2 separate regions of the Homo sapiens genome follow, and region 2 is linked to region 1. Evidence: promoter capture Hi-C in 16 types of primary human blood cells and fetal thymus (Javierre and others, 2016). All regions are on one chromosome and are shown on one strand. Each heading gives the region's core, a stretch centred on a gene start or on the middle of the fragment in contact. The rest is flanking DNA. Distances are from core to core; before and after follow the strand shown.

Evidence for each region. The method cuts DNA at HindIII sites, captures the fragments that hold promoters and counts their contacts. A CHiCAGO score of 5 or more calls a contact.
Region 2: a fragment that was not itself captured here is called in contact with the fragment with the promoter of CCND1 in region 1 in 1 of 17 cell types (M1 macrophages); the score reaches 5.9 in M1 macrophages.

The regions. Positions count from the first base shown.
Region 1 is chr11:69,637,665-69,644,014 of GRCh38, reverse strand. CCND1 (cyclin D1) reads right to left here and starts at 2,859. Exons shown (of 5, transcript NM_053056.3): 1 at 2,504-2,859; 2 at 769-984; 3 at 24-183. The coding sequence starts at 2,701. RefSeq lists enhancers at 1-367, 1,886-2,588, 4,096-5,034, 5,035-5,975 and silencers at 584-843, 974-1,033, 1,124-1,263, 5,788-5,991. The HindIII fragment of the contact is 14,749 bases long and covers 1-6,350 here.
Region 2 is chr11:69,186,811-69,193,075 of GRCh38, reverse strand. No RefSeq gene overlaps it. Among named protein-coding and RNA genes, the nearest start is that of SMIM38, 34 kb to the right of the region's middle. The HindIII fragment of the contact is 1,109 bases long and covers 2,008-3,116 here.

The DNA of each region.
Region 1 (6,350 bases), core at 1,610-4,109:
GGGGGCTGCCGGGCCTGCCCTACCTGTGGCACAGAGGGCAACGAAGGTCTGCGCGTGTTTGCGGATGATCTGTTTGTTCTCCTCCGCCTCTGGCATTTTGGAGAGGAAGTGTTCAATGAAATCGTGCGGGGTCATTGCGGCCAGGTTCCACTTGAGCTTGTTCACCAGGAGCAGCTCCATTTGCTGCGAACACAGGGTGAGCGGCCATCAGGGGAGGTGCGGGCCAGCCCGGGGGCGCGGGGAAGCCGGCAGCACGGGGGCCGGGCCACGCCGCACCTCCGGCTCAGAGCACTGGCCCCTGCGTCTCGTGCGGTCCTGGATGTTGGAGGGGAGGGCTGGCGAATGCTGGGGACTCAAGGGAGCTGGGGCAACACGCAATCCCAGATCAAAACAGAAAAGGCGCCCGCCGCGTGAAAAGACTCTGCAAGTGGAAACAAAAAGACCTCCCACCACCTGGAACTGGAGGCTCAGCGCCGAGCGCGGCGCTCCTCGTGCAGCCGCTGGAGGGCGCGCGCCGCCCACTTTTCGGCCACACCGCGGGGCGCGAACGCGGTGGGAGTCGCAGGCAAGCGCACACAGGGCGGCGGGACGAGGGCGGCTAGGATCCCGCCCGCTCCCCGGACAGGGACGCCCGGCGGCGGGGCCGCCCTCCCTCGGAGGAGCAGATATGTCAGAGGCGGGCCGGCCGCCACCGCCTGCACCTTCCCCGGCCCCGTGGTCCTGCGTGCGGCTCGCGGGGGGCGGGGGGCGGCGGGGTCCAGTGGTTACCAGCAGCTCCTCGGGCCGGATGGAGTTGTCGGTGTAGATGCACAGCTTCTCGGCCGTCAGGGGGATGGTCTCCTTCATCTTAGAGGCCACGAACATGCAAGTGGCCCCCAGCAGCTGCAGGCGGCTCTTTTTCACGGGCTCCAGCGACAGGAAGCGGTCCAGGTAGTTCATGGCCAGCGGGAAGACCTCCTCCTCGCACTTCTGTTCCTCGCAGACCTACGGAGGCACGGGGCCCGTGACCGCCGCCGCCAGGTCGCGCCGCCCCCCCGCACGCCCCCGCACCCCCCATCGCGCTTGGCAGGGCCGCCAGGTCTGGAGGGCGCCGAGGGGTCGGGGCTGGGGGCGGCAGGAGCTTCCCGTGATGCGCCCCCTCCCCCGCGCGTCCCCAGTACCCACCCTCCCCGAAACTGAAAGGGAAAGTCCCCGCGAGGCTGGCACGGTGGGGGCGGGAGCGGGCACAGCTGGGCGGCGTGCGCGGCGGCGCGGGCTGCCGGCCCCCGGGACCCTGGCCCGCCCTGGAGCTCCGTGGTCCCTCTGACTGGGGGTCGACACCAACTGGGGTGCGGGGCCGCGGAACGGGCCGCGGGGTTGGGCGCCGCGCCTGCGAGACACAAAGGTGGCGTCCCAGGCCGCCGCGCCGCATTTCCCCAGACGTCATCTTTTCAAAAAATATTTAAAAATATTAAAAAAATAACTAAGTGCATAAAAAAACCCTGAAAATGACCCTCGGGCGACCCTTTACCCAGGCCGGGGGTTGGGAGTTCGTTACAGGCTCCGGGGGGAGCCCCAGGAATTCAAACTCCGGGGCCCCCCCTTCCCCCTGGGCGCGGGCGGCGTTTCCCTCTCGCAAGGGCACCACGCCGCACTTTCAAAAATTATTTTAAAATACTTGCGGGCCCCTCAGGCGCCCACCGAAGGTCTGAAAATGTGCTCCCAGGCCCCCGGCTCGCTCGGAGAAGGTCCTCCAAGCCGATATCCCTGCAGACGGGGATCAAGCCCTGGCGTCTTGGGGGCCACGCGACCTTGCAGCTCGCCGTGCTCTCCGGCCCAGGCTGCCCGTTCGGGGCGCCCCGGGACTCGCTGCTTGAACAAAGGCCCCCCCTTCCCTAGCGGCGTCCCCCCAAAACTACCCATGCCGCGTCCCTGCGCCCCTCCCGCGGGCTCCCGGCAGCCGCGCGGCCCTTAGCTGCGGCCCCAGCGCCCGGCGGCCGCTCCCCGCCCCCACCCTGCCCCCAATTATTAATAAACACTTTTGCTTTGCAATAAAAGAGCAAAGATGGCGCATAATACTGGCACGAGCGGCCCTTGCATACGTGTCCATGGATATTAATTTAAAAATCAAATCTATGCCCCCTCCCCCCGGAGTTGGCGGCTCCCGGCCGCTGAGGCGCAGCCGGGCTGGGGCGCAGGCGGGGGACACAAAGCGCACCCAGCCTGCCAGCCCGCACCCTCGGGCCCATTGGGGTGCCCCTGGCACTGGCTTCTCCCGAAGGCACCCCTCCCGGACCCCCTTCTCCCCTCCCACGAAACGCTACTTCTAGCACCCCCACCCCCACCCCTTCCTCCTTCAGAAAATACCCGCAATTTTTATTTTGAAAATACGGATCCCTAGAAACACCACGGCAAACTTCAAAGTTCTAGCGGGAGAGAAGGGAGGGGGGTGAGTAGCAAAGAAACGTGGGTCTGGGCAACAAGTTGCAGGGAAGTCTTAAGAGAGCCGCCCGAAGCCCCGCACCTCCAGCATCCAGGTGGCGACGATCTTCCGCATGGACGGCAGGACCTCCTTCTGCACACATTTGAAGTAGGACACCGAGGGCGCGCAGGTCTCCTCCGCCTTCAGCATGGCCCGCAGCACCCGGTCGTTGAGGAGGTTGGCATCGGGGTACGCGCGGCGGATGGTTTCCACTTCGCAGCACAGGAGCTGGTGTTCCATGGCTGGGGCTCTTCCTGGGCAGCTGGGGAGGGCTGTGGGTCCTGGCTGGGTCCGCGCTCGGCTCTCGCTTCTGCTGCCCCGCGCTCCCTCGCGCTCTTCTGCCCCTCGCCGGAGCGTGCGGACTCTGCTGCTCGCTGCTACTGCGCCGACAGCCCTCTGGAGGCTCCAGGACTTTGCAACTTCAACAAAACTCCCCTGTAGTCCGTGTGACGTTACTGTTGTTAAGCAAAGATCAAAGCCCGGCAGAGAATGGGAGCGGGAGGGGGGCGGGGGCGGGCGCAGGGGGAGGGGGCGCGGGCGCCAAACGCCGGGAGCAGCGAGGGGCAGAGCCCAAAAGCCATCCCTGAGGCGCCGCGCCTGCCCTGCGGCGGAGTTGCCCCTGTAGTCCGGTTTTCATAGAAATGCAAATCGCCCCGCTGCAGCCTTTCTCCCCGCCAGGGAAGAGGGGTGCAGGGGGCCCCGTCCGCCTCGAGTGGGTCCCCCGGGATTTAGGGGGTGAGGTGGAGGTGGCTCTGCAGTAGGGGACAACTAGGAAGGCCGGCAGGCCACACGCAGCCTGGGGAGACCACGAGAAGGGGTGACTGGGGCGCGGCGACACCCCATATCCAAGCCGGCAGAATGGGCGCATTTCCAAGAACGCCACGAGGGCACCCACGGGCGGACAGACGGCCAAAGAATCTCAGCGACTGCATCTTCTTTCATTTTCATTAACACGTGTAAATTGCAAGAACTAATTTAGCATGCAAGGACGGGGAGGACCGGGCACACAACCCCTGTGCAAGTTTCATTCCGGCGCACAGGGGCGTCGTTGCAAATGCCCAAGGGGGTAACCCTAAAAGTTAAAGGGATTTCAGCTTAGCATGCGCTCGCTCAAAAAATAAAATAAAATAAATGCCCGAAAATTCCAGCAGCAGCCCAAGATGGTGGCCAGCATTTCCTTCATCTTGTCCTTCTAGCCTGGAGACTCTTCGGGCTGCCTTCCTACCTTGACCAGTCGGTCCTTGCGGGGGTCCCCAACTGCACCCCCTCCCTTCCCGTGCCGGCAATTTAACCGGGAGAAACACACCTCTGAATGGAAAGCTGAGAAACAGTGATCTCCATTCTGACTCATTTTTTTTAATTAAAAAAGAAATTAAATTGCTGGAAATATTAGTCCCCTCTGCCTGGGACAAGACCACCGAAGGTTCCTAATTGGTTTTGTTGGGGGTGTAGACGTCCCTTCACCTTTAGAATTTGCCCTGGGACTGAATTCGTGAGCGTGAGGGGGCTGGCAGGAGCCGGCATAATTCAGAACAATTATCAATTAAACAAACGAGTGTACTGATCTGATTTTTAGCAAAATCGATAGGTGTTCGTGGTTACATGAGAGGGTCCCCAATATTATCGCAAACTTAAGCAGATGTAAATTAAAATACACAGTTTTTAAAATTACAGGTTCTGTCTCTTTGGTGCATTAAAAAATAAAAGGACATTTTACTGTCTTAACTTTTGTTTTTATTTTTACAGTACCTGCCCCAAATTAAGAAAACTGTTCATTTACTTCCTTTTGAATATAGTTCAGTGTCATCAAACCACCGTACCCTCTTAACAGTAAAAGCTCAAAGAAAACTGATAGAAAAAGCCCTCTCCCCTTCGCCAGGGTGCTCACAGCAAGATGCGACCCCCCCCACCCCCACCTTTCAGGGTGAATTCCTCCCGCGCCCCCTCCCCCGCCGGGAATTAGGATTACTAATATTCCGGGTCCTGGGGGGGTAATTACCCCCGGATTCCGCATGGGGAGCGATGGGTTGCCCCAGCAGGGAGCACCTACGGTCGTGCCCCCCCCCACTCCCCGAGCACCCACAATCGCGTTGGCCCCCGCATAGCCAAGCCTCAGAGCATCAGCCCGCGCACAAGGGCGGCCCAGCTGCTTTTTCATTCATAAAATCCCGACCCGGCGGCCGCCTGGATGATTTATGGGGCCCGGAGCTATCACCCGGCCTCTCCCATCCCGTGGGGCGAGGGGCCCCGAGCCCCGCGTGCGCCCTGGCCCAGCCCGAGGCGCGAAGCGGGCCGAAGTCGGCTAGGGGCAGCAGGGCATAAAGAGGCTCGCCCACTCCGGCACAACCGGCTCTGGGTCCAGGAGGGAGCTTCACCCCCCCATCCCGGGCGCAAGACAGAGGAAACTGGAATTAGCATGAGCCAATGGGGGCGCGGCGCTGTTACTAGGCGGACCGGGCAGATCTCGACTAGGAACTTCGTTGATTTCCCGGCTCAGGGACGAGCGCAAAATTGCAAGCCCGGTTAGCGAGCGTAAAGAGCCGTCCAGGAACCCGCGGGGGAGGCGCTGGAATTTGGGGCCCGGCGCTGGAATTTGGGGCCCGGCGGGGAGCGCCAGCTGCCCAGCCCCCACCTGGGGGAACCCTGCTTGGCGGCCCCCGGGTCCCCCGAGGGGGCCAATACCTCTGGGCTTTTGAGGGTCATTGCTTCAAGAAGCGCAGAGAAAGCATTTTGATTTTATTTTTTCCAAAGAGAAAAGCAACTTTAAAAAACTTTTCGGTTGCAGTTTTACTTTACACTGTCTTCTTAAAACCCACCACGAAGCAGGAACTGCGGATTCTGGGCTCATTTAAAGTGCTCTGTTCTTATTTCTTGGTGACCATTTGGAGACAAAGGGCAAGTGGCCCAGTCGGGAGGGTAACCACGTTGTTTGAAAGAAAATCCAAAATTAACTGAAATCACCTTCACGCTTTCCTCGCCCCCTGGCCCCCGCCCCGGTGACCGCGGCCTGGGCGGATGGTCGGTCAGGAGAAAGCGAATTCCGCTGCAGGCGCGTGTTCGCCACCGTCCCTGGCTGTGGGAACCTTCATTCAGGCGGGGGAAGGGAGCGCGTTCATTCAGGAACCGGCGCGCCGCGACGCAGACCCCGGGACTCAGCGCGGCTGCGCGCCGCGGGGCTCGGGGCTTGGGTTGGGGGCGGGTGGTGCAGGGACCAGTCCCGACCTTTCGCCAGCGACCTCCCGCACCCGCTTTTCCACCAGGGCGGCTGGCGGGCGGGCGCACCCAGGTGGGGTCACCTGCAGCCGCATACCTGGCGGCGACTTGAAAGGACTTGGCTCAGGCTCCGCGAGTTTTCCATTGTTAAGCCCTTAAGTCGCCCGGGAAAACGCTTCCGAAAGCCGGCCCCTGGGCTCCGAAGGCGCTCGAGCTCCCCTTCCCCCCACACTGCTTGCTTTTGGGGTGCGCGTGGCGGCCCACGTGCTATGGCAGCTCTGCTTCGCTTACGTAGCGCCGATCCCAGGCGCCCCAAAACTGCGAGGTGGGCCGGGGCGAACTCCGGCCCCAGTGCCCACCCGAGACAGCCACACGCTCGGCACATGGACAGCCGCACCGCCCCCCCCATCGCCCCAACCGCAGACGTGCGTTTCCGCTCCAGATCAATTAGTTTCAGCCACACACAGACCACCCTGCCACCGCCCCTCCCGTGCCCCAGTCGTCTGTCCGGCGGGCTGCGGGGAAACGAGACCCCTCCCCTAGCTCCGAGGGCTGCCGGCAAGGTGTGCGCTGGAGTTAAAACGCAAACCCAACAGGTAGGGGGGCGGCCCTGGCTCCAACGACGCATCTGGGATCCCGAGGCTGAAGGCGCAACTCTTGAGGGTTAAAGGCGATT
Region 2 (6,265 bases), core at 1,313-3,812, 450 kb after region 1:
CCAAGGAGAGTGTGGACCCTTCAGCTCTGGGACACCTTGCCCAAGACAAAAAGGTGGCTCAGAGCCGTAGCTGGCCTTGGGCTATGTTGTAAACTGAGAGTCAGGAGCAGTGAAAATGCAATGATCAGAACAAATAATATTACAGAGAACTCTACCTGGCTAAGGCATCAGGACGCATCTAGGAGGAGCTGTGGGTTGACAGGGAAGCCCAGGAGGGCCTGCAAAGGAGGCTGTGGACCCCATGTGTGCACACACACATGTGCATGTGTTTGTGGAAGTTTGCACATACATGTGCAAGTTGAGACGAGCCTTTGAAGAAAAAAATAATAACGAAATGCCTATGAGCAAAGCCAGGTGCCAAGAAAAGAAGCAGAAAGGAAGATGAAAGGCAGGAGTCCCCGCCTCCCCAGCCTCCGGAAGCTTCCACGGGGCGAGAGGCCTCCTGGTGTGGCTCTCATTTTCAGAGGCCCGGCCGCCTGACCGCCGCAATGCTGGGGCCACGTGGCCGAGGGGACACATGGAGCAGGGGCCAGTGACCCAGAGGAGGTGATCTTGGCCACGATCTGATTACCAGATGGGTCCTTTCCCACTCCCTAGAAAACAGGAAATCCATCTGAAAGGCAAGACAAATCGCCGCCCCTGCCTCCCGCCCATCTGCCATGATATGTGAACATGCAGGCTGTCAGCAGCTCCAGCCCGTGATTGATTCCCGGTATTTATAGGCCGGGGTCTATTATCAGCTGTGCTATCAAAGGCTTAGCCAGGCTGGGCTGACCCCACCGGCTATTTCAATATGCCACTCCTTTGAGACAGCTCTAACTCTTTAATTCAATAGCAATACTATTTCATGTCAGTCCCAAAGAGAGAGTTTCCTGTTTTGCAAAGGATTTGTGCCTGATTTCAAGGCAAATTAAAGACAGCTTGGAAATGTCACCTGCACTCAAGGTCAAGGGCGCTACAGCCTCTACTCTCAGCCCAGGGTTTCACCTGCAAGGCTGCACCCAAGGCTCAGACACTGTTGAGAGGTAGAGAAACAGGATGCCCATCCTCATCCCAGTTTGCCACTAAAGTGCAGTGTGGGCTGGGCATGGTGGCTCATGCCTGTAATCCCAGCACTTTGGGAGGCCGAGGTGGGAGGATCACTTGAGATCAGGAGTTTGAGACCAGCCTGACCAACATGGAGAAACCCCGTCTCTACTAGAAATACAAAATTAGCCAGCCGTGATAGCGCATGCCTGTAATCCCAGCTACTCGGGAGGCTGAGACAGGAGAATTGCTTGAACCCAGGACGCGGAGGTTGCAGCTAGCCGAGATCATGCCATTGCACTCCAGTCTCGGCAACAAGAGCTAAACTCCATCTCAAAAAAAAAAAAAATGGGCCATGTGACATTGGCTACGTTGCTTGCCTTCTCTGTTTCTGTCTCTTCAGCCCTACAACCAGCTCTTCCATGCTACAACATGAAGTCTAAGCTCTTTAGCTCAGACTTCCAAGCCCCTAACAACGCTGTAGTCTCCCCTTCTCACTACCCACCACCCCAGTCACCCTGAACATCTCCCTGGTCTCAAAACCTCACCTCTGCCTGGTCTCTCTCAGCGCTATTCCTCAAGTGGCAACACTGCCCCTCACCACTACTCACTGCAGGTCAACCGCCAGCCAGGTCTTCCCCGGGCATTCTCTGCCTGCTTTTCCTAACACCCTACCGCATGGGCTGTCAGCATCCCCACTTTACAGATGGGAAGACTGAGGTGCAGAGAAATCAAGGGAGAAAGGGACAGTGCCACGAATCATGCAGGCTCTGCCCAGCTGCAGAGCCCTGAGAGCCTTCTGAGGAAGGGTCCGAGAGGCCCAGGAGACCCAGCTGCGGCTGTGAAGTCATCCTATCACAGATGGAGAGTGCTTTGTACGGCCAAGTGGCCACTTCCAGCCCAGCCGAGCAAGGGCATCACCCACAGGCACAGGCAGAACCATGGAGGAGCGCTCTGCACCCCCAGCATCACAGGGAAGCTTCCACCCATGGAGGGACCGATGGGCAATGTCCAGGTGGAAATGGGAGACGACGTCACAAGATTGCCAGGGGACATGAGCCCACATGGCTGGCGCCACCCAGGAACCCTGCCCCTGACGGCCCAGGGAGCAGTGCTGTGTAGTGGTGCCATTTTGCGCCTCTGTCTCTGCAGATGGAGACACTGAGATTCAGAAAGATCTCACCATCTTCCCAACATCACGTGGTTGAACGGGGTTGAAACTCAGCCAAGAACCCACCTTCCAGCCAGGGCTGTGTCCACTGGGAGGACCATTTATTTATTTACTTATTTATTTAGAGACAGGGTCTCACTCAGTCTCCCAGGCTGGAGGGCAGCAGTGCGATCATAGCTCACTGCAGCCTCGAACTGCCAGGCTCAAGCAATCCTCCCACCTCAGCCTCTCGAGTAGCTGGGACCACAGGCGTATGCCACCATACCAGGTTAATTTTTAATTTTTTTGTAGAGATGAAGTCTTGCTATGTTGTCCAGGCAGGTCTTGAACTCCTGGCCTCAAGCAATCCTCCCATCTCAGCCTCCCAAATTGCTGGGATTACAGGTGTGAGCCACCACACTCAGCCTGTCTGTTTTTTTCAAACTAAGTTTTCTATTAAAAACTCCATTCAATGAAAAGTTTCTTTAATACATCAATTTTATTATTATTTTGTTTATGTCTGCAAACTACTATGGTAAACAACATGAGCCCTCATGGTAGGGACCCAGGAAGGTGCTTGCATTCTTGGGCAAAGTTGTCTCACATGCCTGCCCTGGAACAGGCCGGGAAGACACCACCTTCCAAGATGCCTCTGATGTCCAGTGTCAGGTTCTACCAGGGGCAGGATGGAGTTTAGCCTCTCTCCACTGTCTTGAGACTGCCAGTCCCCAGGCAAGGCCAGAGGGGCAAACTTCAGCCATGGTAGCGGCCAGGCACCATTACTGTCCACCGGGAATCTCCATCTCCGGCCCCCGCCTTCTTTCTACCTGCCCAGGGCTAAAGGACTTTGGAGTCAGGGAGAGGAAGCCTCTGGTAGAGTTTGGGATCATGCAGCCCTGCCTTCTGGCTCTTTAGCTCGATGTTGCCCCAAACCCAAGCTTGGGCACCTGCCTCCATTCTTTCCCCCGCCTCCTGGCCTCATTCATCCAGCACTGACGAGGGCAGTCTTGGGCGCAGAGCAGTGAAGCTGTCCAATGCTGAGGAGACTTGTCACACACCCATTATAGGCCAAAGTTCATTCCAGGTATAAGTCACAACTCCCCTATGAGGCAGAAGCATTCATCTCCTTCTAGAGGTGGGAACACTGAGGGACAGAGAGGTTAAATAACCCAAGGTTACCCAAATATTGGTGCTAGAGACAGGATTCAAGCACAGGCAGTCGGCTCCAGGGCCAGTGGGTTCCTACAGCCCTGTGCTGTCTGTCAACAGTGTTCCAAAAGAGGTCGGAGGGACATCAGCTCTCAAATAAGGCAGGAGAGAAAGAGGCAAATGAAGCAAGAGATAAAATGTGGAGGGTTTGGATGGGATCCTAGGTTTTCCCTCCTGCACCCCCATCCCCAGAAAAGGAAAGAGTTGAACTAAGTGCTAGAGGCCACCTATCCCTGCAGGGAAAATGCTGTCTCCTGATGGGGCCCTACCTCCTGGGGTCTTTGCTGAACAGTCTTCATAATGATGATGACAATGAAGATGACAACAATGGTGACAATGACAATGATAATAATGACAGTGATGACGATGATGGTGGTGGTGATGATGATGATAATGATGATGATGGTAGTGGTGGTGGTGGTAATGATGATAATGATAATGGTGATTATGATGACAATGATGATGATGGTGGTGATGGTGGTGGTGGTGGTGGTGGTGATGATGATGATGACGATGATAATGGTGATGATGACAATGATGATAATGGTGATTATGACGACAATGATGATGATGGTGATTATGATGATGATGGTGATGATGATGATGGTGGTAATGATGGTGACAATGATGATGACAATGGTGGTGATGATGCTGATAACAATGATGCTGATGGCATTACTATTAAATGGCTATGACTGGGGTCCTGGCCCCCATTCCCTCTCACCTATGCAAGACCTTTCTCCTGCAGCTAGGCCCTCTTTTTCTTTGATATTATCTCCTTCTCTCATTCCCAAGAGCACATAGAGGCTGTGTCAGTTGTTATTGCTGCTACAACAAAACACCACAAACTTGGTAGCGTAAAGTAACAGACACTTATCACTCTACAGTCCCAGAGGTCAGGACAGGTCTCACAGGGCTTGAATCCAGGTTCCTTCTGGAGCCTGCGGGTGCAAATCATTTCCTTGCCTTTTCCAGCTTCTGGAGGCCACCAGCATTTCCTGGCTCGTGCCCCTTCTCCATGTTCCAAGCCAGCAACACTGCATCTTTCTGTGCCTTGCCTCCACCATCACAACTCCCTCTGATTCTCCTCTTACTCCCTCTCTTCCACTTTTAAGGACCCTGTGATGACACTGGGCCAAGCTGGATGATTCAGGATGGTCTCCCTATCTTGAGGCCTGCTGATTATTAGCCTTAATTCCATCTGTGACTTTAATTCCCCTTTGTCCTGTAACCTAACATGTTCACAAATTTCAGGGATTAGGATGAAGACATTTTTGGGGGCCACTATTCTGCCTTCCACACACAAACGGTGATATGGTTTGACTGTATGTCCACCCAAATCTCATCTTGAATTGTAATTCCCATAATTCCTGTAGCTTCCATAATTCCCACTTATCATGGGAGGGATCTGGTGGGAGGTAATTGAATCATACGGGTGGGTCTTTCCCATGCTGTTCTCGTGACTGTGAATAAGTCTCCTGAGATCTGATGGTTTTATAAAGGGGAGTTCCCCTACACATGCTGTCTTGCCTACTGCCATGTAAGACGTGATTTTGCTCCTTGTTCACCTTCAGCCATGATTGTGAGGCCTCCCCAGCCATGTGGGACTGTGAGCCAATTAAACCTCTTTCCTTCATAAATCACTCAGTCTCAGATACGTCTTTATTAGCAGCATGTGTTCTGGTTATTCTGTTTGAATAACACTGCCCCAAGATGGAGTCACTCAAAACAACAATCATCATTTGTTATCTCTCATGGCTTCTGCCGGTCAAGCAGGCACAGCGGGGATGGTTTCTCTCCACCCAGTGACATCTGGGGCCTCAGCTGGGGTGGCTCAGAGGCTAGAGACAGAACCACCTGAAGGCTCATTCACCTTCATGTCTGCCAGTTGAGGCTGATGTCAGCTGCGGGCCTGGCAAGGGCTGCTGGCCAGAACCACACATGGCCTCTCCATGTGGCTTGGGCTTCCTCACAACATGGAGGATGAATTCCAAGAAAGAGAGAGTCAAATGAAAGCCATATTGCCTTTTCAGCCCTCAACTCAGGAGCCACAGGGCGTCACTCCTGCCATATACTCTGTCAGCGTACAGGTCTGCACAAGCTCAGGGACAGGGTCACTCTTCCTCTCAAAGGGAGAGTGTCGACCTTACTTTGTAAGAAGAGCAGGTGGAATGGGAGATATACAGGGGGCATCATCTTTGGGACCTGCCATCTTCCCTAGCACCTCAGACTGAGCCTGAGCCAGGCAGAACCCTTGAATTTTTCCCCAGACATGGCGGTCCCCTTGCTAGATAATGGCATCCCCATCCTCATGGTATTTCAGGGCAAAAGTCTGGGCATTGTCTAGAGGGTGGCAGGCCATGCAGGTCAGACACTGGAGGGACCTGGGCCACGAAGCCTGGCAGTTGGAGACCCTTCTGTTGGTTCTCACTGTGGGAAGTCACGAAGACCCCGCAGATCCTGGGCAGCTGTATGACCTGGGCAAGCTGGCGGGAAGCGACAGCTCCACAGACTCCGAGACAGAGAGGCTGCAATACTCCTCCGCCCGATTGCCTCATCCCCCAAAGGGCTTTGATAAATGGAGAGATAGGCCCGCTAATTCTTGGGTGCTGCAGGGGGAGGATGTCCTGTCACCACTAAAACGGGCCCGGACTCCTTATCATGCTGTCACTCTGCAAATCACCAAAGACAGGCTTACGTCACCCCCTCAGAGGGGCTTCAGAGGGGCCTCTAATCCTAATGGATTTGCCCAAGTGGAGATAAAGAACCTTCTTGTTCCTCCCATAATGCAGTAATTCACTTTACAAATAGAGCCAAGGAGAGTGGTTGGGAGTGGGGGCTGGTCAGCCACTCAAAGGGCCAGTTTTCCCGGGCAGGGGA